Linked DNA regions of Homo sapiens: regions 1, 3, 4, 5 and 6 are each linked to region 2. The links are contacts of gene promoters, found by promoter capture Hi-C in blood cells and fetal thymus (Javierre and others, 2016). All regions are on one chromosome and are shown on one strand. The core of a region is centred on a gene start or on the middle of the fragment in contact, and the rest is flanking DNA. Distances in the headings are between cores, read along the strand shown. Region 1 overlaps DYNC1LI2 (dynein cytoplasmic 1 light intermediate chain 2). Region 2 holds the start of CDH5 (cadherin 5). Region 3 overlaps CMTM4 (CKLF like MARVEL transmembrane domain containing 4). Region 4 overlaps NAE1 (NEDD8 activating enzyme E1 subunit 1). Region 5 overlaps CMTM4 (CKLF like MARVEL transmembrane domain containing 4). Region 6 overlaps CMTM4 (CKLF like MARVEL transmembrane domain containing 4).

Region 1 (4,739 bases), core at 357-2,856, 370 kb before region 2:
TTGATTCCTTTAAAGACCCTTCAACAACCACATGGAGGAGTTCTTCTCTGTTTTTATCCAAAATGGAGTATGGTTTACTTGACTAGATTATTTGTATTAACAGTGAAGTATTTGTGTGTGTGTGTGTGTGTGTGTGTGTGTGTGTGTGTGTGTGTGTGTGTGTTTGTTTTTTTTTGAAACAGAGTCTCACTGTCACCCAGCCTAGAGTGCAATGGCACGATTTCGGCTCACTGCAACCTCCACCTCCTGGGTTCAAGTGATTCTCCTGCCTCAGCCTCCCAAGTAGCTGGGATTACAGGTGCCCGCCACCATGCCTGGCTAATTTTTGTATTTTTAGTAGAGACAAGGTTTCACCATGTTGGCCAGGCTGGTCTTGAATTCCTGACCTCATGATCCACCCGCCTTGGCCTGCCACAGTTCTGGGATTACAGACATAAGCCATCGCGTTTAGCCTGACAGTGAAGGTATATGAATGAGCTTAATTAAAGAGATGCTGTAGGCCGGGTGCTGTGGCTCACGCCTGTAATCCCAGCACTTTGGGAGACTGAGGTGGGTGGATCACAAGGTCAGGAGTTCAAGATCAGCCTGGCCAAGATGGTGAAACCCTGTCTCTACTAAAAATACAAAACAAAATTAGCCGGGCATGGTGGTAGGTGCCTGTAATCCCAGCTACTCAGGAGGCTGAGGCAGAGAATTACTTAAACCCGGCAGGTGGAGGATGCAGTGAGCCGAGATTGTGCCACTGCACTCCAGCCTCGGCAACAGAGCGAAACTCCATCACAAAAAAAAAAAAAAAAAAAAAAAAAGAAGCTGTAGAGATGAAATATCACATCTGCACTTTAGGGCCTAATCAGTTAGTTTTCAGTTTGCTCACTGTTACATGAAAGACAGAGAGCTCTCAGATAATTTCAGAAGCTCATATAATAGTAACGTCAAATCTTTGTAAATAAAAACTCGTGGTTTGAAATGTTTGAAACGTGTTCTGTGGGTGAAGAGGAGCAGGTAGGACCTTTCTCTAGGTCCTCTTCAGTCCTGTTGTTTGAATTTACTTAGCATGTTGGTGAGAGTAAAAGGCCTTTGATCCTTCAGTCTTACTGGACTTAGAAGGGTAGAGCTGCCTGTTTTCTTCTCTGGCTCAAGGTAGCTTTAACTGTTGCATTTTTTGTTCTCTGGACCAACATGAGAGCCTTGAAGTGCCCACATAAAGGTGCAGAGCTGTGGGCTTTGTGGTCACTTGGCTTAACTGAGGCTCGGACCATTGTCACCTTAATGGCCTTCCTTAGCTGGATTAGTGAATATTGTATGCCAATAAGTGGATGTTGTACCACTGACCCTTTCTTGTGTTAGGCAGGAATAGGCCGTGAACACTGCACAAGTGACTTGGGATCCCCAAAAGATGAGACTGAGTCCACAAGAGTGAGGATAATAAGGAAATACATCTGGTGCTGGGCAAGACCAGCCTGGTTACTTAGTGCTGACAAGCTTCAGCTGTGTGGAAACAGCATGTTCTTATAAAATTCAATTGTTTCATTAAGCATTTTTTTTTTTTTTTTTTTTGAGACGGAGTCTCGCTCTGTCTTACTGCAACCTCCGACTCCCTGGTTCAACTGAGTCTCCCGCCTCAGCCTCCCAAGTAGCTGGGATTACAGGCACGTGCTGCCACACCCAGCTAATTTTTGTATTTTTAGCAGAGACAGGGTTTCACCATGTTGGCCAGGGTGGAAGCTTGTTGTTTTTTGTTTGTTTTTGTTTTTTGTTTTGTTTTGTTTTTTGAGGTATAGTCTCACTCTGTTGCCCAGACTGGAGTACAGTGACGCAATCTTAGCTCACTGCAACCTCCACCTCCCAGGTTTAGGCGATTCTCATGCCTTAGCACGAGTCCCCAAGTAGCTGGGACTACAGGTGCACCACCATCCTTAGCTAATTTTTGCATTTTTAGTACAGATGGGGTTTTGCCATGTTGGCCAGGCTGGTCTCAAACTCCTGACCTCAGGTGAACCACCCGCCCTGGCCTCCCAAAGTGATGAGATTACTGGCATGAGCCACTGTGCCCAGCTCATTAGGCATTTCTAATGAGGACTGTGATAAGTATTGTAAGTTATAGCTGTTTCTAATGGTCAGCTATGTTGAAGTTACACAGTTCAACTCTTCTGGTATTCTGAAAATGTAAGATACATAAGAAAAGTGGCTTTCTTCATGGTAAGAACTATTGAAACCTTAGTATTTTTTAAAAACCTGTTTAAGGGCCAGACATGGTGGCTCAAGACTGTAATCCCATAATCCCAGCACTTTGGAAAGCCGAGGTAGCAGGATCTCTGCAGCCCAAGAGTTTGAGACCAGCCTGGCAACACAGGAAGATCCCACCTCTACAAAAATTTAAAAAGTAGCTGGGCATGGTGGCACATGCCTTTAGTCCCAGCTACTTGGGAAGCTGAAGTGGGAAGATCACTTGAGCTCAGAAGATGGTGATATCAGACTGCTGCACTTCAGCCTGGGCAAGAGAGCAAGACTTTGTCTCAAAAAAGAAGAAAAAAAAACCTGTTCAGGGGTTTGGTGCAATTAAAGATGCCCAGGGGAATGTCTTTGCTGCCCCGATGTTACAAAGCTCACACTGAATATTTCAGAATTGGCATTTTGTATCACCATCCCCAAATCCTTGATTTTGCAGTTGGATGTGACTAAGAAGTTTGTCACACACAACTGCCTGTGTTTTGTGCTTATTATTGCCTTCTTTTCAGTGTTCTAAAGCTAACATGTATTTTTATTTATGTGCATGTGATTTTTTTTCCTCTTTTTCCCCCAGTTGTGAAAGATTTTCAAGACTATATGGAACCTGAAGAAGGTTGTCAAGGTTCCCCACAGAGAAGAGGCCCTCTGACCTCAGGCTCCGATGAAGAAAATGTTGCCCTGCCTCTGGGTGACAATGTGCTGACTCATAACCTGGGGATCCCGGTGTTGGTGGTGTGCACAAAGGTGTGTGCCAGGGGGTTGTTGGCTTGGCTGGGTTCGGGTGGTGAACAGTCACCATCTGAAAGTTTGAGAAACTGTTGACGTTTTTTTCCCAAGGGAGACTTGGGCTTATTTGAGATTCATTAAGGTACATTGAATATGTCAAGACAGAAAAAATTATCATGTAAATTGGAAGTTTAAATGCAGGAAACATGACTAGTCAGTTTGCTCATGGCCTAGGGTTAATGTCTCTGAAGCACTGTTGACTTTCAAACTTAGAACTCACAGCAGTTGGCCAGTTGCGGTGGCTCACGCCTGTAATCTCAGCACTTTGGGAGGCTGAGGTGGGCGGATCATGAGGTCAGTAGATGGAGACCATCCTAGCTAACATGGTGAAACCCCGTCTCTACAAAAAATACAAAAAATTAGACAGCCGTGGTGGCGGGCACCTGTAGTCCCAGCTACTTGGGAGGCTGAGGTAGGAGAATGGCATTAACCCAGGAGGTGGAGCTTGCAGTGAGCCGAGATCATGCCATTGCACTCCAGCCTGAGCGATAGAGCGAGACTCCGTCTCAAAAAATAAAAATAAAAAAAAAAGAACTCACAGCAGTTTCCTTAAGGCTATTTAAATCAGCTGATGTGGTCCAAACTGATGGTGGAAAATTAGAATGATGAGGTAGGAATAGAAATTAAGTTCAGTCATGCCAGACATGGTGGCTCATGTAATCCCAGCACTTTGGGAGGCTCAGGTGGGTGGATCATTTGAGGTCAGGAGTTCAAGACCAGCCTGGCCGACATGGTGAAACCCTGTCTCTACTAAAATAGAAAAATTAGCCAGGCGTGGTGGCAGGTGCCTGTCATCCCAGCTACTCGGGGGCTGAGGCAGGAGAATTGCTTGAGCTGGGAGGCTGAGGTTGCAGTGAGCTGAGATGGCGCCACTGCACTCCATCCGGGATGACACAGTGAGACTATGTCTCAAAAAAAAAAGAAAAAAAAAACAAACAAAGTTCAGTCATAGAGAAATAGAGAAATAAAGTTGTATCTCTTATATAAGGAAAAACAATAGGTTTTAAAACTTTTTTTTTTTTTTTTTTTTTTTTTGAGACGGAGTTTCACTCTTGTTGCCCAGGCTGGAGTACAATGGTGTGATCTCGGCTCACTGCAACCTCTGCCTTCCCAGTTCAAGCGATTCTCCTACCTCAGCCTCCTGAGTAGCTGGGACTACAGGTGTCCGCCACCATGCCTGGCTAATTTTGTATTTTTATTAGAGATGTGGGTTTCTCCATGTTGGTCAGGCTGGTCTCAAACTCCCAACCTCAGGTGATCTGCCCACCTTGACCTCCCAGAGTGTTGGGATTACAAGTGTAAGCCACCACGCCTGGCCACATTTTGGGTTTTAAAAGTACTTTATTTCCAGTCAGAGCCATCATGTTACCCAATTATAGTGTGCCATTCTCATCCTGTTCTTGAGAATGGAGCCCTGTGGAGTGGAGTGTACAACTGTGTACACCGGGCCTGCCTCCTGATGGGAGCTTGTTTGATGTTTAGAACAAACTGTTAGGTGATCAGGCCTATTACATCTTCACTCTACAGATAAAAAAAAAAACGAGGCCCAAGATGAATGAGAAAAATCTCCGGTTCTTTTTTACTCTTCTCTAATTAATGCTTGGACCCTGAGCTGTGGCTTTCTTCTTTGGAGCCACAATACTTTATTTCTGAAGAATGAGGTGTTCCCATCGTCAGCAGGCAATGAAGCAAAAAGGTGACTCTGTCTGTCTTCCCTGCAGTGT
Region 2 (4,385 bases), core at 1,054-3,553:
CCATGATTTACCCACTTAACACCAGCTTGAACCTGGATCAGGACAGACTTTTTAGTATCTCCTCAGCCAGAGGTGAAGCTCCTGAGGCCCTGCCTCCTAGAACATTCCTTCCCCTGGTATCACTGGGCTCCTGGCTTGTCCCTGTGCCTGCCTCTGTGGCCTGGACTGCTCTGCTTTCCCCCTCTCTGAGCTTCACTGTGGAGTGTGGCATGGACTGTGGGTCAGAAGGAACCGCACTCACCCTGCTTCTACCTTGTGTTGGTTGTGTGACCTTGGACTGGCTGCACAGCTTCCCTCAGCCTCGATGGTCCCATCTGTCAAATGGGAATTCTCATAGTTGCTTCAGTGTGACTGAGGGGGTGCAGAGAGAGGATACAGGGAACAGTCATGGGTCCATGTGGGCAAAATGAGCCTAAGATTCTTCCTGGGATGGTGTCCCCTCTGTCCCCTGGGTGTCCCCAAGTCAGCAGTGAATCATCCAACTTTGCAGAAAATGTGTGGCCCCTGCTGGCTTCCTGCCCTCATGTCCGGCCCTTGTTTGGCAACACAATAGCTCAGGCTGAGGCTGCAGGCGGGCAGCTTAACCCCTTCCAGGCCAGTATACACCTCCCCTACCCCTCACCACCATAAGCTGAAATTGGTAGGGCTGCTCAGGGGCTCAGCAGCTCTTGGGCCCCTTGGTGGATACCTGCTGCTCTCTAGGGCAGGCAGAGGAGAGTCCCAGGCTTCCCACCACCTGAGGATGGACCAGGGCTTCTGGCCCTGGCTCCAGTGGCCTGTGGCAAAAGAGCCTTCCAGGTACACCCTCGACTCCTCAAAGCTGCCTCCCTGGGAATGCCCTTCCTCTCTTGTCAGAATCCTATCTGCCCATCACACATGAGAAACGTCCACGCTGGGGAGGGAGCCTGACATGGAGCAGAGGCCCAGAGGTGCTCGCGATGTCCTCTCACTTGCACCCCCTTCCTCGTACCTGCTGGGCACCTGAGGACCCCTCCGTGATGGGGTTTGACCATACCTCAAGGGCCAAAATCTTTATCACATTCACAACCAGGATCGGCTCTGTGCTAGCTGGTAAATCCAGCCACTATTCCTTAAAGATCTCATGTTATGTGCCATTCCCAGCACCAGGGATGTAGCTCACTTCACTCAATTGACTGAGGAAACACTGTTTCCCCATTTCACAGATGAGACACTTGAGACCTGGGGAGAGCTGGGGCTTTGGAGTACGAGATCCTGGTTCAAATCCCCACACCAGCTCATATGTTTCCAAAGCTCAGTTGCTTTCACTGAGATATAAAGAAAGAATGTATCTACCTTGTGGAGTTGTTAATGGTAAAATAATGAGCCCCACACCATCCCTTGTTCCCCACTGTGGTTTGGAAACTCTGGGTAACTTTCCCAAGGTCACCCCAGAGCAAATGGGAGAGCTGGGATCTGTACCCAGGGCAGCTGTCTCCAGGCCAGGCTCTTGGCCCAGACCTCCTGCTTCTGGGGGACTTCCTGGGCTGTGGGGGCCTTGGGGCTCTTATGCTCTAGCCTTTGAAAGGGTGCTGGTGGGAGGAATGGTGGACCGCTGTCCAGACTACAGCTCCCTTGACACATAGTGGGCCCCGATGGTGTTTGGGCAGGGAAAGGCCCAGAGGGAAAGGCAAGACCTCAAGTGCCCAGAGCCAAGCCTCAGCTTGCCTATCCTGAAATGGGGGCACTGGCTGACCGAGAGGGGCCAAGGCTCGGAGCTTCCTTTTCAGGGCCCCTCCCCAGATCCCAGCATAGAGCTTTAGTGGCGTATGGGTAGGGGGCTGAGGAGGCTGGTGTCAGGCCTTGGTAAATCCTCTCCAGTAAGGGTAAGGCACCGAGGGGAGGCCAAGGCCTGGGTGCCAGTCCTCTGCCCCGGCATGCTGGGCAACTGGGGCAGAATACTGCCCTCTCTGAGCCTGGCACTGATGAAGGCCAGTGGGCCTTTTTGAGTTGGAGAATACACTTCTGGGAGAGCCAAGCCCTTGCCCTGCCCCCCTCAGCCCCGAGATGCCCATTTGTGCCCTTGGCACTACCTCTGGGTGCACCTTCCCCGACCCTGCTCTGAGCCACGAGGAGGCCCAGCGTGCCCTCGAGGAGCCTCTCTGTCATGGGAGTGGGACGATGCCCATTCTACAGATGGGGAAGCTGAGGACCCTCCCATCTTGGGCGCAGGGTGGCGGGTTTGGGGTGGAGGGGAGTGTGGGAGCCCCCACTCACCGTGCCTGTGGGCTGAGGGATGTTTCTGTTCCGTTGGACTGCCTGTCCGTCCAGGGCTGAGCGTGAGTGGAGCTCTGTGGAGCCTGTCAGCCGACCGTCTTTGGAGGGGAGCCACACCCCGCTGGCGAGGGAGGCCTGGCTGCCTCCCCTTCAGGTTTTCCAGCTGGCCCTGGCCCACTTCCCCCTGGGATGGTTTCCTGTTATTGTTCCTTTGTGAGGGCTGGGCTGGCTGCAGATAGGCAGGCCCTGCGGTGGGCGGCTGCCTCGGCCCCGGATGGCTGTCTCCACAGAGGGCTGGCACTGGACCCTGCCTGGGGCACCCCACTTGAACCCCTACTCCCGGCCTCAGCTCTGGGACTCTGAACCCAGCACCTGCAAAGAGCCTGGCTGTGGGGACCCTTGGCTGCAGCATCACATTTAACCCTCCTTGGAATGCTACAGGCAGGTGTCATCACCCCCATTTTATAGCCCGGGAAGCTGAGGCTCAGCGGGTTTAAGGTGCTTGTCCACCCAGCTGGGGTATAAAAGAGCCAAAAATCTAGCTGGGGTCAGCCTAGCCCCAGAGCTTGATTTTCTGTGGTGATCCCATGATGTCTTTGTGGGAATGGACTTTAAAGGTGACAGGGAGGCTTCAGGAGATGGGAAAGGGACAGAAGCTCTTGGCTCTGGAGGACCAGGTTGGCTTCTCCTGGTCAGAGCGGGCATGGACTCCAGCTCTAAGGTGCCAGCCTCGGTCTGTAGGGGATGTTTGCATTTAGGGATATTGGGTGGAGTCAAGTGACCCAGCTCTGCTTCTGATGTGACCTCTGGCCAGTTGTGTCATCCTGGAGCCACAGTTTCCTCATCTGTAAAATGGGGATAATCACAGCCTCATCCTCACAAGGCTTTTGACATAAACGAGAATCAAAGAGGGGCGTGGAAGACAGTGACGCTGAGGCTGGATCAGAGCCCAGAAGAACCAAGAGGCTGGGGGGAAGGGAGGGGCCAAGATTCTGCTGACCAGGAGAGACATAGGAGGAGCTTCTAAAAACTACAGAGGACTGGGCTCACCCCAGATCAACTGATTTGGAATCTCCCAGGGCAGATCCTGGGAATCTGTCCTTTGAAGAGTTGCTTCTGTTTTTCCATGGGTGAATGGTTGGGAAGTCCCAAACTTGTTTTATTATATAGCTGGGCAAGCAGAGACCCTGAGAAAGAGAGGGCCCAGGGCCGTTTAGTAAATCAGAGCACAAGATGGGGAGTGTGATGGAAGGATATTTTTGGAGGAGGAGGGGATAGTGATTCCTCTGTCTCAGGCAGGTTGAGTTTGAGATGCTCGTTAGATACCCAGGTGGAGGTGTCAGGCTGGTGGGGGAGACAGGGGTGAGTCCAGCCTGGAGTCGAGGTTTGGAACCCAACAGCTTATGGCTGGCATCTGAGGCCATGGGCATGGATGAGCTTGGAGGGAGGGAGGACTTGGACCCTCTGACATTTGGGGATCCATTAGAAGAGGGTCCCATGATGAAGGAGGAATGCCAGGAGAGGGCAGAGGAGGAGGGCAGGGGAGTAGTCAGTGGGTCAGCCTGGGGAGCATGAGGGCTGAGACTTAACTTTGGATTTGGAAGATGAGGTCATCAATGACTGTGACCAGAACAGGTTAAACAGGAAAAGGTAGACAAGACAGATTGGAGGGGCTAGAGAAAGGGGAGAAAGGGGGACGGGGATGTGGAGTCACGTGTGACTGTAGCTTCTTCCCCAAGTCTTACAGTGAATGGGAGCAGAGAAGTGGGAGGGTTTTTTTTTTTTTTTTTTTTTTTTTTTTTTAACTATGGCAGCACGCTCATGTCCCCAGGGAGCATCCAGCAGACGGGAAGACAGATGATGCTGGAGACTGAGGAGCGACCTGCTGGAAGGAGAACAGTCCTTGGGGCGGAATTCTGAGTGGGATCCAACACATTCAACAGCCGATTGTGGAATGAACAAACAACAGCTCAGCGCTTCCTTCTCCAATGGGATTAACTCTGCTTTCTCCTGCCCAGAGGGGGGGTTGGCCGCAGAGGAGCCAGGACAGTGCTCTGTCCCCTGTGTTCCAGTCCACATCCCCCTCACCCCCGCCTGTCCTCATGGTCTACGTGCCCATGGGGATACACTGGCCTGTGCATTGCTTCCTG
Region 3 (4,119 bases), core at 818-3,317, 280 kb before region 2:
ATACGGTCAATATGTTCTGAGGCCCCATTCACTGGTTTATTGATGAACATGTGTAGGAGTTTGTCACTGAACACTTGTTTCTTCATGCTGTTTCAGTGAGTTGGAAGCAATTTTGTGTGCCATTTTATTTGGGATTGTCAGACTTTGTCAATTTAAAATTCATCAGCTGTATCAAGATGCGATCTGGTACATTGGGAGACATAAAACTCCAAACTCCTGCACAGAAGTACTTGGCTGTTGGCCGGGGGCGGTGGCTCACACCTGTAATCCTAGCACTTTGGGAGGCCAAGGTGGGTGGATCACCTGGGGTCAGGAGTTTGAGACCAGCCTGGCCAACATGATGAAACCCCGTCTCTACTAAAAATACAAAAACTAGCTGGGTGTGGTGGTGGGCACCTGTAATCCCAGCTACTTGGGAGGCTGAGACAGGAGAATCGCTTGAACCCGGAAGGCAGAGGTTGCGGTGAGCCGAGATCATGCCATTGCACTCCAGCCTGGGCTGCAAGAGCGAAACTCCATATCAAAATAATAATAATAATAAAAATAAGAAGTACTTGCTGTTTATAGTACTGCCACAGTTTTGTGCCCTACACACCCTGGAATTCTGATAAATTCTATTTCATGTGGCTCCCATCAAAAAAGGGAGAAAACGTTTAGTGCATTTATAGTTGCATACACTACATTACTGAGTATTTTCCTGATAAGACACAACTCTCATTTAGGCACTGATGACAATAGAATTCTGTACTTACAATTTTATGCATTTGATGATCTGAAGAATTTCCCACAGACAAGCTTCTGGCTCCGTATGTTTCAAACCCTATTTCTCCTCTACTACCCACATATTTCTAGTTGGTCATCATAGGACAGTTTATCTCATGAAGTTTGGGGTCTGTTCCATTGTCATAATGTCAGATGAGCCTGTGCAGTGGTGTCAGAGCATATGTGAAAGCCATTCCTCCACTGGGAGTGCTACGGTAGCTTAACCACACGTGGAACCGGCAGCTAAACCCAAATTTAATGTATCCCTCACTCAACTTCCAGTTAGCTGAATGCCAAAAATGCCCACTGTGGCTGGGTGCAGTGGCTCATGCCTGTAATCCCAGTACTTTGCAGGGCTGAGGTGGGTGGATCACTTGAGGTCAGGAGTTTGAGACCAGCCTGACCAACATGACGAAACCCTGTCTCTACTAAAAGTACAAAAATTAGCCGGCCTTGGTGGCAGGTGCCTGTAATCCCAGCTACTCAGGAGGCTGAAGCAGGACAATCACTTGAACCCGGGAAGCAGAGGTTGCACTTGCCAAGATCTCACCACTGCATTCCAGCCTGGGCGACAGAGACTCTGGCAACAAACGAAACAAAACCAAAAATTGCTATTTCATTATTGCCTGGCACAAGAAGCTGTGACAGAAAGTTAGAGTGGAAGGATGACTATTATGGTAACTTCATCAGCCAGTCCTCTCTCTTTCCTTCTCTTCCTGCTTTTAGATGCTGCCAATCATAATTTGCCACAGTTGTGGAAATCTGACAACCTGTTAATATCAATTCTGGTTTTGTTTGTTCGTTTGTTTGTTTTGGTGATGAAGTCTCCCTTCGTCACCCAGGCTGGAGTGCAGTGGCGCGATCTCGGCTCATTGCAAACTCTACCTCCAGGGTTCAAGTGATTTTCATGCCTCAGCCTCCTGCCTAGCTGGGATTACAGGCATGTGCCACCACACCCAGCTAATTTTTTGTATTTTTAGTAGAGACAGGGGTTTCACTGTGTTGGTCAGGCTGGTCTGGAATTCCTGGCCTCAAGTGATCCAACTCCCTTGGCCTCCCAAAGTGCTGGGATTACAGGTGTGAGCCACTGTACCTGGCCCAGTTTACTTATCAAATATTAAAATATTTACTCTGGTCAGTTTGTAGTTGCCACCTGGAAAGGACTCTCTCCAAGGGCATCCATAATCGCATGATTAGTAAACAAAAAAGTTTTTTCTTATATACATCTTTTTGGACATCTCTGTATAATTTGTTCACGTGACATTTGCTCACTTCAAGGTTGTTATAAGTTGAACTATTTTTGACTCTTTGGTTCCCTTGAAGTTGTTGGCTTCTAGTATCACTTTATCTGAGCCCTTCTTGGTCAATAGGTAGTTTTTATTTCAGCAGTGATTAGATTTCACTGTGCTAGAGAAAATGTTGACATTTTGCTGTGTCCAATGTCAGACAAAAAAATGTTTTGCTTGTAACAGCAGAGTATTAGAAACCATCTAAATGCCTATCAATAGGGGATCAATTAAATTGTGGTTGTGTATAGAGGTGTATATGTGTGTATTTATGTATCTGTCTATGTAATTACATATGAATACATGTAATTATTAAAAGTAACATCTATATGTGGACATACCTGTGGAAACACTATTTAGCAGAAAAAGTGGGCTGGAAAATAAGATATATAATAGGTATTTTATGGTTTAAATAGGTGTAGGTTATAACATGTTATTTTCTTATTTTGTATATAGCATTTTGTCATTTGTAGAGCCCTTTTACATATATTTTTGTTTGGATTTTGAACACAGTGACCATTTGAGATTTGGAAAGGAGGCAGGTATAATTTTATGGGTGAGAAGCTAATAGGGAAATAACATAGTGGGGCAGTAAGAACTGGAGAGACTGAGAATCAAATCTTGGCTATTACATCCTGGCACCGCTTCTTGCTATCTATATGTCACAGAACCTTAATTTCCTTATCTGTAAAATGGGGCTAATATCTACCTCATAAGGTTGTACTGGGGAACTAAATGATAAAAAACAAGAAGTGCCTATAAGGTGTTTGATTTGTATGTACCTGTAATCAATGAGTAATGAGTAGAATATTAATGTTTTATAACAACAAGAGTTTTCCCTCCCTGATATATTATTTATTGCTGCATAACTAATTACCTTAAAACTTTGTGACTTAAAACAAGACATCTTAGGCGGGCCACAGTGGCTGAGACCAGTAATCCCAGTGCTTTGGGAGGCTGAGGCGGGAGGATCTCTTGAGGCCAGGAGTTTGAGACCAGCCTGTGTGAGACCCTGTCTCTACAAAATAAAGAATTATCTGGGCATGGTGGTGTGCCCCTGTAGTTCCAGCTACTCGAAAGTTTGAGGTAGGAGGGTCACTTGAGTCTAGGAGTTCAAGGTTGCAGTGAGCTATGATTGCATCACTGCACCCCCTGGGTGACAGAGGAAGACCCTGTCTTAAAAAAGCAAACAAACAAGAATCAGATCTTTCTTTTCTTTTCATTTCTGTGTGTCAGGAATTTGGGGGGTGGCTTTGCTCTGGTTCTCTCAGGAGGTTGCAGTCAAGCTTTTGGCTAGGGCTATGTCATCTGAAGGCTTGCCTGGGGCTGGAGGACCTATGTCTAAGACGGCTTGTTCAACATGGCTGTTGGCAGGAGGCTTTAGTTCTTGGCACCTATACCTCTCCATAGGGCTGCTTGAGTACCCTCAAGACATGGCAGCTGGTTTTTCCCCATCATGAGTGGTCTAAGAGAGAGCAAGGCAGGAACCATGCTAACTTTTCTGACTGAGCCTGTGCAGTCACACACCTGTGAAGTCATTTCTGCAAGGTAATAGGTCAGCCCTATTCATTGTTGCAAGGGTCTTGTCACTCTCCTCCTGGCTTCTGCCCTTGTCCTCACTGTAGTCTGTTCTCCGCAAAGTAGCTGGTGGCCCTTTTAAGACCCAAAGGAGATCCTGCCACTCTCTGGTGCTTCCATCACACTCAGAGTGAGAGCCGCATACCTCACTGCACCCAAGCGCTCTTTGGGTCTGACCTCCCTCCTGTGATTCTCCCTAGGGGCCACCTGACCCCCTTCCCAGGGATCTCACCTTGCTCCCCACTCTGCCTCCAGTGCTCTTTCTCCAGACAGCTGTCCCTTATATGTTCGGCAACTCTGTCTCAAATAGCACCCTCCAGGGACACTCTGTCTAAACTTTATTTATTTTTATTATTTTTTTTGAGACAGAGTCTCACTCTATCACCCAGGCTGGAGTGCAGTGTAGTGGCGCGATCTCAGCTCACTGCAACCTCCGCCCCCAGGCTCAAGCAGTTCTCTTGTTTCAGCCTCCGGAGTAGCTGGGATTACAGGC
Region 4 (4,653 bases), core at 758-3,257, 440 kb before region 2:
AGCGAGATCCTGTCTCAAAAAACAAAGAAGTTTTACATTGGAGATGAACAGTTTTAATGTATTTAACTTTCCTTGGACTTGACTTCCAGGAGATAAGTCATGTTCTTCAGTAATGTATTTTTTCAGGTCCTCTGTCACAGAAGCCGAAATCATAGATCCCTCTAGGGGAGCAGTTTTTAAGTTGGGTGCTGTTAGAGGGACCCTGGGTTTTAGTGGGCACTGAGAGTCCGTCACTAACACTGGAAAGATTCCCAGCTACTCATGGTGCTGTTGATAGCATTTCCCTGGCATTTTCACATTTCATACATTGTCAGACCTGTGTTTTTTCATGAAAAGGAAAGAAAATTTTTGTTCATGGTAACAATTTAAATTTTGCTAATTTAAAAATTTGTTAGTAATTGCTTTTTATTCTTTTTTAGTTACCGTGAAAAAGCAAAGAAAGATGCTGCCGCTGTGGGTAATCATGTTGCCAAATTGCTGCAGTCCATTGGCCAGGTAAGCTACTGGGCACACTGTGCCCATACAGGCCTCAGCACGTAACTCCAGCCAGAAAGGGTTTAGAGACAGAGGGTGTGGCACTGCCTCTGTGCTTCTTTAGAGGGAGCTGTCATTTCCCTGCCTAATGGGATAGCTTGTGATAAGGAAACAAGATATTTTTAAAGTGCTCTCCCAGCTCTTGGAGAAAGCCTTCCCATCTCACAGTGATTGGCTTTGTGCCGCACCCTTTGTTAATCTTCTCTTTTAAACTGGAACAGAATCTGTATTTATCTCTTTACAGGCACCAGAGTCCATTTCAGAGAAAGAATTAAAATTACTCTGTAAGTCCCCTTGAATTAATTTCCTTATTTTGCTTGATAGAAATGTGCCACAGGGAATGTTCCCAGGTATTTTGAATGGTTGAAATTTTAAGTTTTCCATGGCCTCAGTGATATAGATATAGATAATTATTGGGTAAGGTTTTTTTTTTCCTCTCATAATACAATACATGGCGAGTATTTTAAGACTGAATCAGAGGTAGAACATGTTTATCTGTGGCAATGCTAAAAAGGCTTGACGGTCAGTTAATTGAAAATTGCCATTAATACAGGATTTTCAGTTTTTAAATTTTAAGTAATTTAGGAAGTTTTTTTGTCTGAAGACTTTGGGTGTGAAGTCTTGAGTCACATGTACATTGACAATATTGGTTTAAATACTCATTTTGATCTGTGTTAAATGACTGTAATGGAGTTAAGAATTTTGCCATCTAGTTTCGGAGTGGTTAGGTTCGTAGGAGTCTTCTCAGTAACTCCTCAGTAGGCCAAAAGCATTTTCTTTTATTTAAGAGTCAGTTTCAAAATACCCAATCTGTTGTGCATGCCATCTGAAGATTTCTCCCTGTAGCTACTGCTCCTACGTCCTGTGGAAGTTTATATTTTGCATGCTCCCCATCCTTAAAATAGATTTATCCAAGCTTTCCATTTTATGACTTCTCCACAATGTCTGTTTAGGCTCGGTTTTAATGTTTTCTGCCACTACTAATCTTGCACCTTGTTTGTTCTATTAGACTAATCTTGAATTAGCGTTTGTTGTATTAGATTATATAATACTAGATCACAAGTTTGATGCTGGGTATTTGAACATTTATTATTCTGTTCTACTTTGGGGCGTTTTTGAAAATTTCAATAATACAAAGCTTAAAGTCATTACATATATCAAGAGTACAATTCATAAACCTCTCTCCTTTAGGACTACTTATCCATAATAATGATGAAAACTATTATTTTTAGAGCCATATCAGGCATTGTGCTAGAGATGCACTTTATACAGATGTCACATTTAATCTGTAGAACAATTCTCAAAGGTAAACAGTATCATCCCCATTTTACACTTGAAAACTGAGGTTCAGAGAGGCCATCACCTTACTTGCTTCTGAACTGGTTGTAGTGCCAGGGATATAAATTTAAGGTGATTCATGTTCTAGTGCTTTCTCTGCTATTAGAACCAAGGAGAAAACATTTCTTCACATTCTCATGTCTGAGAAGGGTATACACATAATTCTCTGTTCTTAAAGTCACCTGTGATTCATAATATTCACCAGTCACAGTCATTACTTCCAGAATATCTTTCCTCTGTTCAGGCAGCAATTCTGCATTTCTTCGAGTGGTAAGATGTCGATCCTTAGCTGAAGAATATGGTTTGGATACAATTAACAAGGATGAAATTAGTAAGTATAATAGCCTTCTGATTCTGGGTTAATTTTAATTAATTTAAAAGATATAAATATTTTGTGTATAATAGTGTTGAGTATATGGTGATGATATTAAAGATAACGTAAACATATTCTAATTTTATTCTAAGCTTATCTAGGTAATTATAATTTATATATTATATGAAACTTAATGTATGCATAAAGTCATATTTAGGTCACTGAGTCCATTGTGTGATATGTATGAGTTAAAGTCAGTATGTTACTACTTCAGTAGAGATTGTGTGACTCCAGTTAATAGTCCTGAAACTCAAGTATATAGTAAATTCAGCCCTTCATTGTTTGTTACATTGCAAATTAACCAAATTAAACTGAAATTTTTTTTCCTTTCAGTTTCTAGCATGGACAATCCAGATAATGAAATAGTGTTGTACTTAATGTTACGGGCTGTTGATAGATTTCATAAACAACAGGGTAGATATCCAGGTAAGAATAGCAATTGAATTACCAGATATAATAAGATCTTCAATAAAACATTTAAATTGAAAGTGTTCTCAGGGTATTTATAATAGTGTTGCTTGAATTTCACATTGTAAACAGATTACACCCCAAACGTTCCCCAGTGAAGAACCACCTTTTGTTTTTTAAGTTTAACTATTTGCAAAATAGTGTTCGATTCTAAACTATTACAGGGGGATGTTGGTTGAATATGTATAGAAGAAAACTTTTTTCTGTCATTTTCCATAGTTTGTTACTAAGACTCACACTGAGTTTAATTTAGTGGAATAGGAAAGCCACAAGAAATATGCTGGCCAGGCATAGTACGGTGGCTCACGTCTGTAATGCCAGCACTTTGGGAGACTGATTCAGGCAGATTGCTTGAGCCCAGGAGTTGGAGACCAGCGTGGGCAACATGGTGGAACCCCATCTCTACTGAAGATACAAAAAATTAGCCAGACATGGTGGTGTGCACTTGTAGACTCAGCTACTCGGGAGGATCACCTGAGCCTGGGAAGTTGGGGCTACAGTGAGTTGTGATTGTGCCACTAAACTCCAGCCTGGGTGACTGTGGTGAGACTGTCTCAAAAAAAAAAAAAAGTATGCTACTAATTTCTGAACTCAATAACTCTGAAGATGTAGGAATTTCTTTGTTTAGTTATCTACTTTTTATCTTCAGCAAATGTAGTCATTGGAGAATTGGCATAATCTCAAAGATCTGAGGTTGCTCAGAATATTTTTCTTTGGGATGATAATTTTAATTGTGCAGGATTATTGCATAGCAACACATTCTAGGGGTATCATAAAACCTGCTGCTCCATCTGATACAGTGTGTCTCCAGAGTTTATAGTCTTTTTTTTTTTTCTTTTGAGACGGAGTCTCGCTCTGTCGCCCAGGCTGGAGTGCAGTGGCGTGATCTCAGCTCACTGCAACCTCCGCCTCCTGGGTTTAAGCAGTTTTCCTGCCTCAGCCTCCCGAGTAGCTGGGACTATAGGCGCCCGCCACCTCGCCCAGCTAATTTTTGTATTTTTAGTAGAAACAGGGTTTCTCCGTGTTGGCCAGGCTGGTCTCGAACTCCTGACCTCAAGTGATCCTCCTGTGTTGGCCTCCCAAAGTGCAGGGATTACACGCATGAGCCACTGCGCTGCCCAGAGTTTATAGTCCTAACAAGCAAGCTTACTAGAAGAAAAAAAAAGAATAAACACCAAATATGTATTGCTTTATTTGTATTATTTGATTAGTATTTATTTCAGTTATCTGTTGCATAACAAACCACTTCAAAACTTAGTGGTTTAAAACAATAAATAGTGTCGTGATTTTGTGGGTTGCCTGGTCTCAGGCAGTTCTCCTTGGGGAGGCATGCAGTTGCTTGAGCCTGGGGGTGGAGTCATTCTGAAGGCTTGACTGACTGAGTTAGACATGCAAGAAGACATTTTTACTCATGTAACTAGCACCTTAGTCAGAACAGTGGGAATAGCTGGCGGCTGGTCAGGTATCTCTTCACGTGGCTAGCTTGGACTTCCTTTTGGCATGTCAGTTGGCTTCTGCAGTTAACATTCCAAAAAACCCAAGTGGAAGGTACAGGGCTTTTTATGACCTAGCTTTGGAAGTCATACAGCATCACTTATGAGCTAAGTAACTTAATCTCTCTGTGCTTTAGTTTTCTCTTCTATAAATGGAGATAACTATACATACTTCATAGGACTGTTTTGAGGATTCAATCAATTAATATAGATATAAGGTCCTTAGAACAGTGTCCAGCATCTATTAATGCTCAATAAATGTGACCTATTATTGGCCAGGCATGGTGGCTCACACCTGTAATCCCAGCACTTTGGGAGGCCAAGGCGGGTGGATCACTTGAGGCCAGGAGTTCGAGACCAGCCTAGCCAACACTGAAACTAAAAATAGAAAAAATTAGCTGTGTGTGGTGGCGCACTCCTGTAGTCTCAGTTTCTTGGGAGGCTGAG
Region 5 (4,643 bases), core at 1,959-4,458, 290 kb before region 2:
TGGGATTACAGGTGTGAGCCACCATGTCCTGCCTATATTTAATGTAATTATTAGTATGCTTAAATTTAAACCTACCATTTTGTTATTTATTTTCTGTTTGTTCCCTCTGTTTTGTTCCTGTTTTCCCTTTCCTCTTTTCTTTTGGAGTCTTTGAATATTTGTTAGTATTTCATTATAATTGATTTATTGAGTTTTGACTAGTATCTCTTTATATAGTTTTTTTTTTAAGTGTTTGGTCTACGAATTACATTATACATACACATAATTATAACATTAATATTGTACACTTTACTTATAATTAACATTTCATTACTTAGAATGAAATACAGAAACCTTGCAAGTACATAGGTCCCTTTACCCTCCTACTTTGTTTTCGTTGTCAAATACATTGAAATCCCAACATTGTTACAGATTTTGCTCTTAACCATCATGCATACTTGAAATAACTCGAGAAGAATTGTATATTATGTTTACCGAGGTTTTTACCATTTCTGTTGCTTTTCTTTCACTACTGATATTCCAAGTTTCCCTCTGGTATCATTTCCATTCTCCATGAAGAACCTCATAGCGTTTCATTTAGAGCAGATTTGTTGGCTATGAGTTCTCTTCATTTTCCTTTATCTGAAATTTTTTTTTTTTTTTTTTGAGACGGAGTCTCACTCTGTCACCCAGGCTGGAAGTGCAGTGGTGCGATCTTGGCTCACTGCAACCTCTGCCTCCCGGGTTCAAGCAATTCTCCTGCCTCAGCCTCCAGAGTAGCTGGGACTACAGGTGCCCACCACCATGCCCAGCTAATTTTTGTATTTTTAGTAGAGACAGAGTTTCACCATGTTGGCCAGGCTGGTCTCAAACTCCTGAGCTCAGGTGATCTGCCTGCCTCAGCCTCCCAAAGTGATAGGATTACAGGCATGTGCCACTGCACCTGGCCTGTTCTAAGCTTTATATAAAATAATCCAAGAAGTAGGGATGCGTACTCTTTAAACAAATAGAAAGACAGAAAGTCTCAGCTAAGAAATAGAAGATATAAAGAAGCAAATGGGCCGGGTGTGTTGGCTCACACCTGTGATCCCAGCACTTTGGGAGGCCGAGGTGGGTGGATCACGAGGTCAGGAGATTGAGACCATCCTGGTCAACATGGTGAATCCCTGTCTTTACTAAAAATACAAAAATTAGCTCGGTGTGGCGGCGCTTGCCTGTAATCCCAGCTACTTGGGAGGCTGAGGCAGGAGAATCGCTTGAATTCGGGAGGCGGAGGTTGCAGTGAGCCAAGATCGCACCACTGAACTCCAGCCTGACGACAGAGCTAGACTCTGTCTCAAAAAAAAAAAAAAAAAAAAAAAAAAAAAGCAAATGAAAATCTTAGAACCATAGAACGTAGTATCCAAAATAAAAATGGATGGGCTGGATAGCAGAAGGTAGCTCATCACTCACTGTAACCTTGAACTCCTGGGCTCCAGTAATCCTCCCGCTTCAGCCTCCTGATTAGCTGGGACTGCAGGGGTATACCACCATGCCTGGCTAATCTTGGGTTATTTTATTATAGCTGCTTTACAATCTGATAATTCCAACAACTGTGTCATCTTGGCATTGGCATCTGTTGATTGTCTTTTTCCATATGAATTGAGATTTTCCTGGTTCTTTGTATGCCAAGTAATTTAGAATTATATCGTGGACATTTGTTTATTATGTTATGGGACTCTGGTCTTGTTTAAATCCTATGAAGAATGTTGATTTTTGTTTTGTTTTCGAAAGCAATCAACCTGGCTGGGTTCAAGTGAGAAGTTCTGGTCAGTCTTCTGTGGGTTGAAGGTTCAATATCAATTCTGTTTCAAAGCCTTTGTGATGCTATTTGAATCTTTGCTCGGTATATGCCACCCAGTGGTCAGTCTGGGACCTAGGTGGTGAGCTATCCCATAGTTCATTCTCAACGTCTTTACTGCACTGTTTAGGGTCAGATACACATATATATACAACTTTGGGTGAGCTCAGGAGTTTATAAGCTTTATGGGCTTGGTGTTTTGATTTATAAACAGGAGTTTATAGAACTTTATGGGTTTGCTTCCTCTTTCTGCCAGTTCCTTGGTATTTTCCAGCCCTTAGAACTCCTCTTTCGGGTCTGTGTCCCAAAAGCTGGTTCTTTAGTTACCCTACTCTGTTGAACAGTTTCCACAGCTGTGTCCATGTCCTAGGCCACATGGTGGGAGGACAGGGGAAGGGGAAAGCAAGGGGGTTCGCTCATGCCCTAAGAACTCGGGTTCCTCTGAGTCGACTCCTCTGTTGTGGACATCTGTAGCCTCCTGCTGCTGCATTGCCTCTGACACTTCAGGGTTGTCTGGGGTCTGAAATCTAAGTGAGAATGAAGGAAAAAAAAAGTTAAAAGGAAAATAAAACCCAGGATTGTGTTCAATGTCTATGAGTGTTAGGAAAATCCCCCTGTCTACTTTTCTGGCCAGAACTAGAGGATTGTCCTGGACTCCCTATCTATACCAGGCTCTCTTTTCTGGGTTTTTCTGGGTTTGAGGCTCCTTAGAGTCTAAGCTGGGGAACACTGGAGGAAAAATAGGAGCCTGACTGTTGGTTCTGTGGTGCTTTGAACTCTGGGCATCTTCACCATCTGCCTACTTTGATTTGTTTTTCAGTGTCCTGAAATAGCTGCTCTGTGCATTGTTTCCAGTTTGATAGCAGCATTCAGTGGGACAGACAGGCTGGAGTGTACCTACTTCATTAACTGGAACTGGAATTCCAAATTTATGATACTTGGAAGCTTTCTAATTTGTTTTTGTTGTCTGTTTTTATTGTCTGATAGCCAAATAGGCTCCTGGCTTGCAGGCTGCTGGGGCCCTGGCTTGTGTAGAGATGAATCACGGTGGCATGGTGTTTTGGTTTTTTGTTTGTTTTGTTTTTGTAGTAAGGAAATGTTTTATTTTTATTTTATTTTATTTTTTTGAGACAGAGTCTTGCTCTGTTGCCCAGGCTGGAGTGCAGTGGTGCGATCTCAGCTCACTGCAGTGTCTGCCTCCCGAGTTCACGCAATTCTCCTGCCTCAGCCTCCTGAGTAGCTGGAATTACAGGCATGCACCACTATGCCCGGCTAATTTTTTTGTTGTTTTAGTAGAGATGGGGGTTTCACCGTGTTGGCCAGGCTGGTCTTGAACTTCTGACCTCAGGTGATCCACCCACCTTGGCCTCCCAAAGTGCTGGGATTACAGATGTGAGCCACCGTGCCCGGCCTATAGTAAGGAAATGTTTTAAGTATTACTCTGGGATATTCCTGGCATGTGCAAGGAATCATATAAAAGGATCCATTTTAATAAAATTTGGACTTAATGTTACTATCTTTTCATATTAGCGAACAGACTTTTCTGCCTGTGAATATGAAAACAGAGCATTATAGAAAAGATTTGGGACTGCTTAGCTCTACTTCCCACTAAAAATGACAGTCTTTTACTTCATCCTTAACTGACAAGCGTTTAGCCTCAGTGTGACTGATGTCAGCTAAAATCACCAGGTCTGTTTTCACTTGGCTGCTTTTATCAAGTCTGTTCTCCCTACTCTATATTCCTGTAGCTGAATCTTTGAACCTGAAATTTATACGGGTTACAGTCCATCCGCAGCACCAGTCTGGCTGATGTTGGGATAATTTTGAAGCTTATTACCTTACATATTAGCAATCTGAAGTCTCTTATTCACAGATGTGGCAAGTGATAAACCAGCTTTGTATGTTTTCTCCCAAATAATTTCTAGAAACTTAAGTGGCCCTTCACCTGAGCCCATGTTTTAGGCTGACATGGAACATTAATTATCAACCTTTGGATAGTGTCCAGTTGCCTGTGGACATGGTTTAATGACTGTTTCGTAGATGCCTGTTCATGCCCTGTTGGTCAGTCATTACTCAGCTATTTTCCTGAGTGTCTGTTCGGGAGGGATAGAGCAGGGAGCCAGCTAGACGCGATTCCGGAGACAGGCCCCACCGTGCGGTAAACTGCACTTCCTCACTTAGCACAGCGAGCAGGAGAGGGAAGAGCTGACTATGGGGACAGGGCAGCCAAGTGTTAGGAGATTTGAGGAGACAGCAGGAAGCCTGCAGAGGGAGAGGTTTATTGTGGAGGGATGAGGAAAGGCTTCCCAGAGCAGCTTGCAGTTATTTTTTTATTTGCTTGTTTTTAAATTACTTCTTAAAGAAATCACACAAGTAATACCAATTTAAGAAAAATTAGAAAATACCTCTAAGTTAAAAGAAAAAAACACATGTCCTAGTATCTTACTCATCAGAGATGAACACTAGTCACATTGTGTGTAACACTGTCTCCGTATTTGTTCACATATGTCTGTGTGCATATATTTACAAGTACAGATTGCTTTGTAACATGACTGTTCTATGCTGCTTCTCCTTATCAATAGACTTTACAACATTGAAAATTTTTCTTTTTAATTTACATGCAATAAATTTCACCTTTTATGGTGGAGTTTTGTTTTTTTTTTTTTTTTTTTGAGACAGGATCTCACCCTATTGTCCAGGCTGGAGTGCAGTGGCATAATCAGGGCTCACTGCAGCCTGTACCTCCCAGGCTCAAGCAATCCTCCTACCTCTGCCTTCCAAGAGGCTGAGACCACAGACATGTGCCACCACGCCTGGCTAATTT
Region 6 (4,540 bases), core at 1,157-3,656, 310 kb before region 2:
CCACCCCACTCTGCCTTACTATTGACCCCTGTCACCCTGCTTGATTCTCCTCCAGAGCATTGACCATCCAGCTGGAAGGTCAGCTCCATGAGAGCAAAGACTTGGCTTTCAAGTTCCCTGCTGTATCCCGTGTCTAAACCAGGGTCTGGCACATAGGTGTTGAATAGACAGTTGAATGTATGTGTTTGTTTAATAAAAGAAAAAAAATGGGCCGGGCGTGGTAGCTCCCAGCACTTTGGGAGACCGAGGCAGGCGGATCACGAGGTCAGGAGATCGAGACCATCCTGGCTAACATGGTGAAACCCTGTCTCTATTGCAAATACAAAAAATTAGCTGGCCGTGGTGGTGGGCGCCTGTAGTCCCAGCTGCTCGGGAGGCTGAGGCAGGAGAATGATGTGAACCCAGGAGGCGGAGCTTGCAGTGAGCCGAGATCACGCCACTGCACTCCAGCCTGGGTGACAGAGCAAGACTCCGTCTCAAAAAAAAAAAAAAAAAAAAAAAGAAAAGAAAAAAATGGGTTATTAATGTAGTTTGTAAGGTCAAGTTTTTGAAAACATGGAATCCATGGGGAAAATTTATATATATATATATATGTATATATATATACATATGTATATATATATATACGTATATATATATACATATATATATATATATACACACACACACACACACACAACTAGACTCTATTTGAGGTGGAAAATATTGGAGAGAAACTATGGAAATAAAATGCCATCGTAATTACTTTTTCTTTTTTTAACTTTAAGTAGACTATCTACTGCTACTAGGAAACAGAAGATTTTGCTTAGGAGACAGATTTTTGTAAAAGTTGGGGAAACCATAAGAGGCTTTGCCAATCTTTTTGCCTAGAAAAGTGTAAAATGAAAACCAGGATTCTGTAATTATTATTGAAGTTGTCTGCTTTCTGATTAACACATTCAGAAAGAGAGAGGCTTGTATCTGTCAAGCAAGTATCTTTCAAGAGACACTTTTCAGGCAAAGAAAAAGTCACAACTGGCATTGAAGCTGAGGGTCATAGTGATTTTTTTTTTAAAGCTTTCTGATTAAAATAAAAGAACAACCGTTCCATGAGGCCTGCAAAGGGAGGCTGGCGATCTTCAGTGAAGGCTAGAGAAGGCTATGGGAAATACTGTTAAGCCAGCATTTTGTTGTTGACAATTTCAAATGAATGGTTAAGTTTGAGAATTAAATGAGTTAATAAACACTTAAAATGTTCAAAGTTTAATCAAGTGTGGATAGTTCTGGATGTTTTCTTTACTGCCACTGCGATTTGATGACTGGTGCAGTGGAAGCCTTCATTTTTGTGGTTTCCCATTTATTCCAGCACCACTGTGAAAAACAGTTTAAGGCTAAAAGATTTTTGTGCCAGTGGAAAAAAAAAAAGAAAAACAACCCAGAAACAATGGCTCTTCCAGGGGTAGTTGCTTCCTCAGCTTGTCTACTTTCTTTCACCCATTTTCAGGCCAAGCCCTAGAAATGTGTATAACTTGAGATTAAGTGTTGGCTAAATAACTTGAAAGTTAAATCAAGATCAGTAACTAGATGTCAGTAAAAATGCTATCATTCACCCCTTTTTAAAAAATCCATACTTTATATACATTTGAGTGCCTAGGGTGGGCCAGGTACTATTAGAAATAAGACAAAAATCTCTGCCTCCAAAGAGCTCCCAGAGCTCTTGGGAGTAAGGGTTTGGAGTGGGGCAGACAAAAGTACACAAACCATTGGACCACCTGAGCCAGGGGCTGTGATAGAGGCCTGGCGATAGTGGGCTTGGCAGGAAGCACTTGTGGCCATTTGGGAAAGGGGCACATTGCTGTAAGATGCTGAATGGCCAATGCCTGGAATAAGGAGGGTGTGCCTGTGGCAAAGGAATATCCCAGGTGCTAGGGTCCAGCCCAGAAAGGCGTGGTAAGAGGTGAGTCAAGTGTGGTTCACCAGGCAAAGGTATGGAAGGGAAGGGCAAGTGATTTGACAAATGGGGCAAGATGAGGGGGACCCAGGCTGGTGAGGGGCCGATTTGTTAGCCTGATGAAATTGGATTTTTCTAAAAGAGATGGGGAACAGTTATAACTGTGGCTATTGAGCGCTTGAAATGTGGCTGGTACGAATTGAGATATGCATAAATACAAAATACACCCTGGATTTTAAAGATTTAATAGGGAAGGCTGGGCGCGGTGGCTCACGTCTGTAATCCCAGCACTTTGGGAGGCCAAGACGGGTGGATCCCAAGGTCAGGAGATCAATACCATCCTGGCTAACATCTCTACTAAAAATACAAAAAAATTAGCTGGGCGTGGTGGCGGGTGCCTGTAGTCCCAGCTACTTGGGAGGCTGAGGCAGGAGAATGGCATGAACCCGGGAGGTGGAGCTTGCAGTGAGCCAAGATCAGGCCACTGCACTCCAGCCTGGGCAACAGAGCAAGACTCGGTCTCAAAAAAGAAAAAAAAAAAGATTTAATAGGAAAAAAAGCATGTCAACTATCATTAATAATTTTATACTGATTATATATTGAAGTAATATTTTTCATTTGTTTTTCCTTTATAGAGACAGGGTCTCACTGTGTTGCCCAGGCTGGTCTGGAACTCCTGGCCTCAAGTGATCCTTCTGCCTCAGCCTCCCAAAGTACTAGGATTGCAGGTGTGAGCCACTGTGTCTGGTCAATATTTTGGATATATTGGATTGCATAAAATATACTATCCAAATTCTACTTTTTTACGTTTTAAAATATGGCTATTAGAAAATTTTCAGTTGCATGTGTGGCTTACGTATTTCTGTTGGATATTTCTAGGTTAGAAGGTGTGTGCAATGGCTTTGAGAAGGGTGAGATTATTGCAGCAGGACCTGGTCAGAGACTTTGAGTAGATCCAGTGAGAAAAGAAGGCTTAACTAACTGGTCTTTTGGCAGTGGAGATGGAAAGGACATAACTAAATGAGAGAGAGTTAAGAGGTGGAGGTGGCCATTATGGTTTTTTTTTTTTTTTTTTTTTTTTTTTGAGACGGAGTCTTGCTCTGTTGCCCAGGCTGGAGTGCAGTGGCACGATCTCGGCTCACTGCAAGCTCTGCCTCCCAGGTTCATGCCATTCTCCTGCCTCAGCCTTCCGAGCAGCTGGGACTACAGGTGCCCGCCACCACGCCTGGCTAATATTTTGTATTTTTAGTAGAGACGGGGTTTCACCGCGTTAGCCATGATGGTCTCGATCTCCTGACCTCGTGATCTGCCCGCCTTGGCCTCCCGAAGCGCTGGGATTACAGGCATGAGCCACCATGCCCGACCTTTTTTTTTTTTTTGAGATGGAGTCTCACTCTGTCACCCAGGCTGGAGTGCAGTGGTGTGATCTCGGCTCACTGCAGCCTCTGCCTCCTGGGTTCAAGCAATTCTCGGGCCTCAGCCTCCCGAGTAGCTGGGATTACAGGCACCCACCACCACACCTGGCCAATTTTTGTATTTTTAGTAGAGACAGGGTTTTACCATGTTGGTGAGGCTGGTCTGGAACTCCTGGCCTCAAGTGATCCATACGCCTTGGCCTCCCAAAGTGCTGAGATTATAGGCATGAGCCACTGTGCCTGGCCGGCAGTTATGATTTATTATATTTCTTGCTTTTAGTTTACAGTACATTAAATTCATTTCTCAATCAATAAATGATACTAAAGGTAGCACTGAAGTGTGCATTGCTATGTGCCAGATTGCTAAGTGTTTTATTTGTGTTACCTCATTTAACGTTCATGGCAAGCTTATCAGGCAGGCACTGTTAATGTTGCCATTTTACAGATGCAGAAACAGAAGCCTATTGGGGTCAATAACTGGCTAGCTGGTGGGGAGCTGTGCAGTCTACCTTCCAAGGCCAGAGCCCCCGTGTGAGTTTGTTTCTGTAACCATTAGGCGGATTGTGAGCATTGCTCCAGCATCACTCATCGGTCTCATCTTTTTTTTTTTTTTTTTTTTGACATAGAGTCTCGCACTGTCACCCAGGCTGGAGTGCAGTGGTGTGATCTCAGTTCACTGAAACTTCCACCTCCCAGGTTCAAGCGTTTCTCTTGCCTCAGTCTCCCGAGTAGCTGGGATTACAGGCACCCAGCACCACGCCCGGCTGATTTTTATATTTTTAGTAGAGACAGGGTTTCACCATGTTGGCCAGGCTGGTCTCGAACTCCTGACCTCTAGTGATCTGCCCACCTCGGCCTCCCTAACTGCTGGGATTACAGGCATGAGCCACCATGCCCGGCCTCATCAGTCCCATCTTACATTGACTTGGTCCGTTTCTGTTTTCCCCTCTGCTGGCTCTGCTCCTGGGGGGGTCTCCAGCCTCAAGAGAACCCTTTTTGCATAATTCAGGGGTCACATCTCTCAGAGTCAGGGGAGAAGGGGGGCCCTCAGTTCTTCTTTCTCCTTGGATTATTGATAAAATTTAAGAATTGCTAAAATCAGAACCAGTAAAAGTGATGAGGAAGCTGGAAGCCATCTTTTCCCATGGAGCGGGGTAAAGAAGTGAAAATTGAGACTTGATTGTCATCCTTCTTG

What was found. The method cuts DNA at HindIII sites, captures the fragments that hold promoters and counts their contacts. A CHiCAGO score of 5 or more calls a contact.
Region 1: a fragment that was not itself captured here is called in contact with the fragment with the promoter of CDH5 in region 2 in 1 of 17 cell types (naive B cells); the score reaches 6.3 in naive B cells.
Region 3: a fragment that was not itself captured here is called in contact with the fragment with the promoter of CDH5 in region 2 in 1 of 17 cell types (non-activated CD4 T cells); the score reaches 5.3 in non-activated CD4 T cells.
Region 4: a contact is called between a fragment that was not itself captured here and the fragment with the promoter of CDH5 in region 2, in 1 of 17 cell types (non-activated CD4 T cells). The highest score is 6.1, in non-activated CD4 T cells.
Region 5: a fragment that was not itself captured here is called in contact with the fragment with the promoter of CDH5 in region 2 in 2 of 17 cell types (total B cells and naive CD8 T cells); the score reaches 5.8 in total B cells.
Region 6: a contact is called between a fragment that was not itself captured here and the fragment with the promoter of CDH5 in region 2, in 2 of 17 cell types (naive B cells and total CD4 T cells). The highest score is 5.6, in naive B cells.

The regions. Positions count from the first base shown.
Region 1 is chr16:66,734,309-66,739,047 of GRCh38, reverse strand. It overlaps DYNC1LI2 (dynein cytoplasmic 1 light intermediate chain 2), which reads left to right. Exons shown (of 13, transcript NM_006141.3): 5 at 2,804-2,973; 6 at 4,737-4,739. Among named protein-coding and RNA genes, the nearest start is that of DYNC1LI2, 15 kb to the left of the region's middle. The HindIII fragment of the contact is 243 bases long and covers 1,485-1,727 here.
Region 2 is chr16:66,364,609-66,368,993 of GRCh38, reverse strand. CDH5 (cadherin 5) reads right to left here and starts at 2,303. Exons shown (of 12, transcript NM_001795.5): 1 at 2,236-2,303. It overlaps LOC105371318 (a long non-coding RNA gene), which reads left to right. Exons shown (of 3, transcript XR_933687.3): 3 at 4,067-4,385. RefSeq lists enhancers at 344-1,050, 1,861-2,410. The HindIII fragment of the contact is 26,652 bases long and covers 1-4,385 here.
Region 3 is chr16:66,640,174-66,644,292 of GRCh38, reverse strand. The region is part of intron 1 of CMTM4 (CKLF like MARVEL transmembrane domain containing 4); the gene reads left to right. Among named protein-coding and RNA genes, the nearest start is that of CMTM3, 38 kb to the right of the region's middle. RefSeq lists a silencer at 383-561. The HindIII fragment of the contact is 2,539 bases long and covers 798-3,336 here.
Region 4 is chr16:66,806,539-66,811,191 of GRCh38, reverse strand. It overlaps NAE1 (NEDD8 activating enzyme E1 subunit 1), which reads left to right. Exons shown (of 20, transcript NM_003905.4): 14 at 420-495; 15 at 779-818; 16 at 2,117-2,203; 17 at 2,579-2,671. Among named protein-coding and RNA genes, the nearest start is that of TERB1, 7.3 kb to the right of the region's middle. The HindIII fragment of the contact is 665 bases long and covers 1,675-2,339 here.
Region 5 is chr16:66,660,236-66,664,878 of GRCh38, reverse strand. The region is part of intron 1 of CMTM4 (CKLF like MARVEL transmembrane domain containing 4); the gene reads left to right. Among named protein-coding and RNA genes, the nearest start is that of CMTM4, 34 kb to the left of the region's middle. The HindIII fragment of the contact is 884 bases long and covers 2,767-3,650 here.
Region 6 is chr16:66,679,248-66,683,787 of GRCh38, reverse strand. The region is part of intron 1 of CMTM4 (CKLF like MARVEL transmembrane domain containing 4); the gene reads left to right. Among named protein-coding and RNA genes, the nearest start is that of CMTM4, 15 kb to the left of the region's middle. The HindIII fragment of the contact is 2,696 bases long and covers 1,059-3,754 here.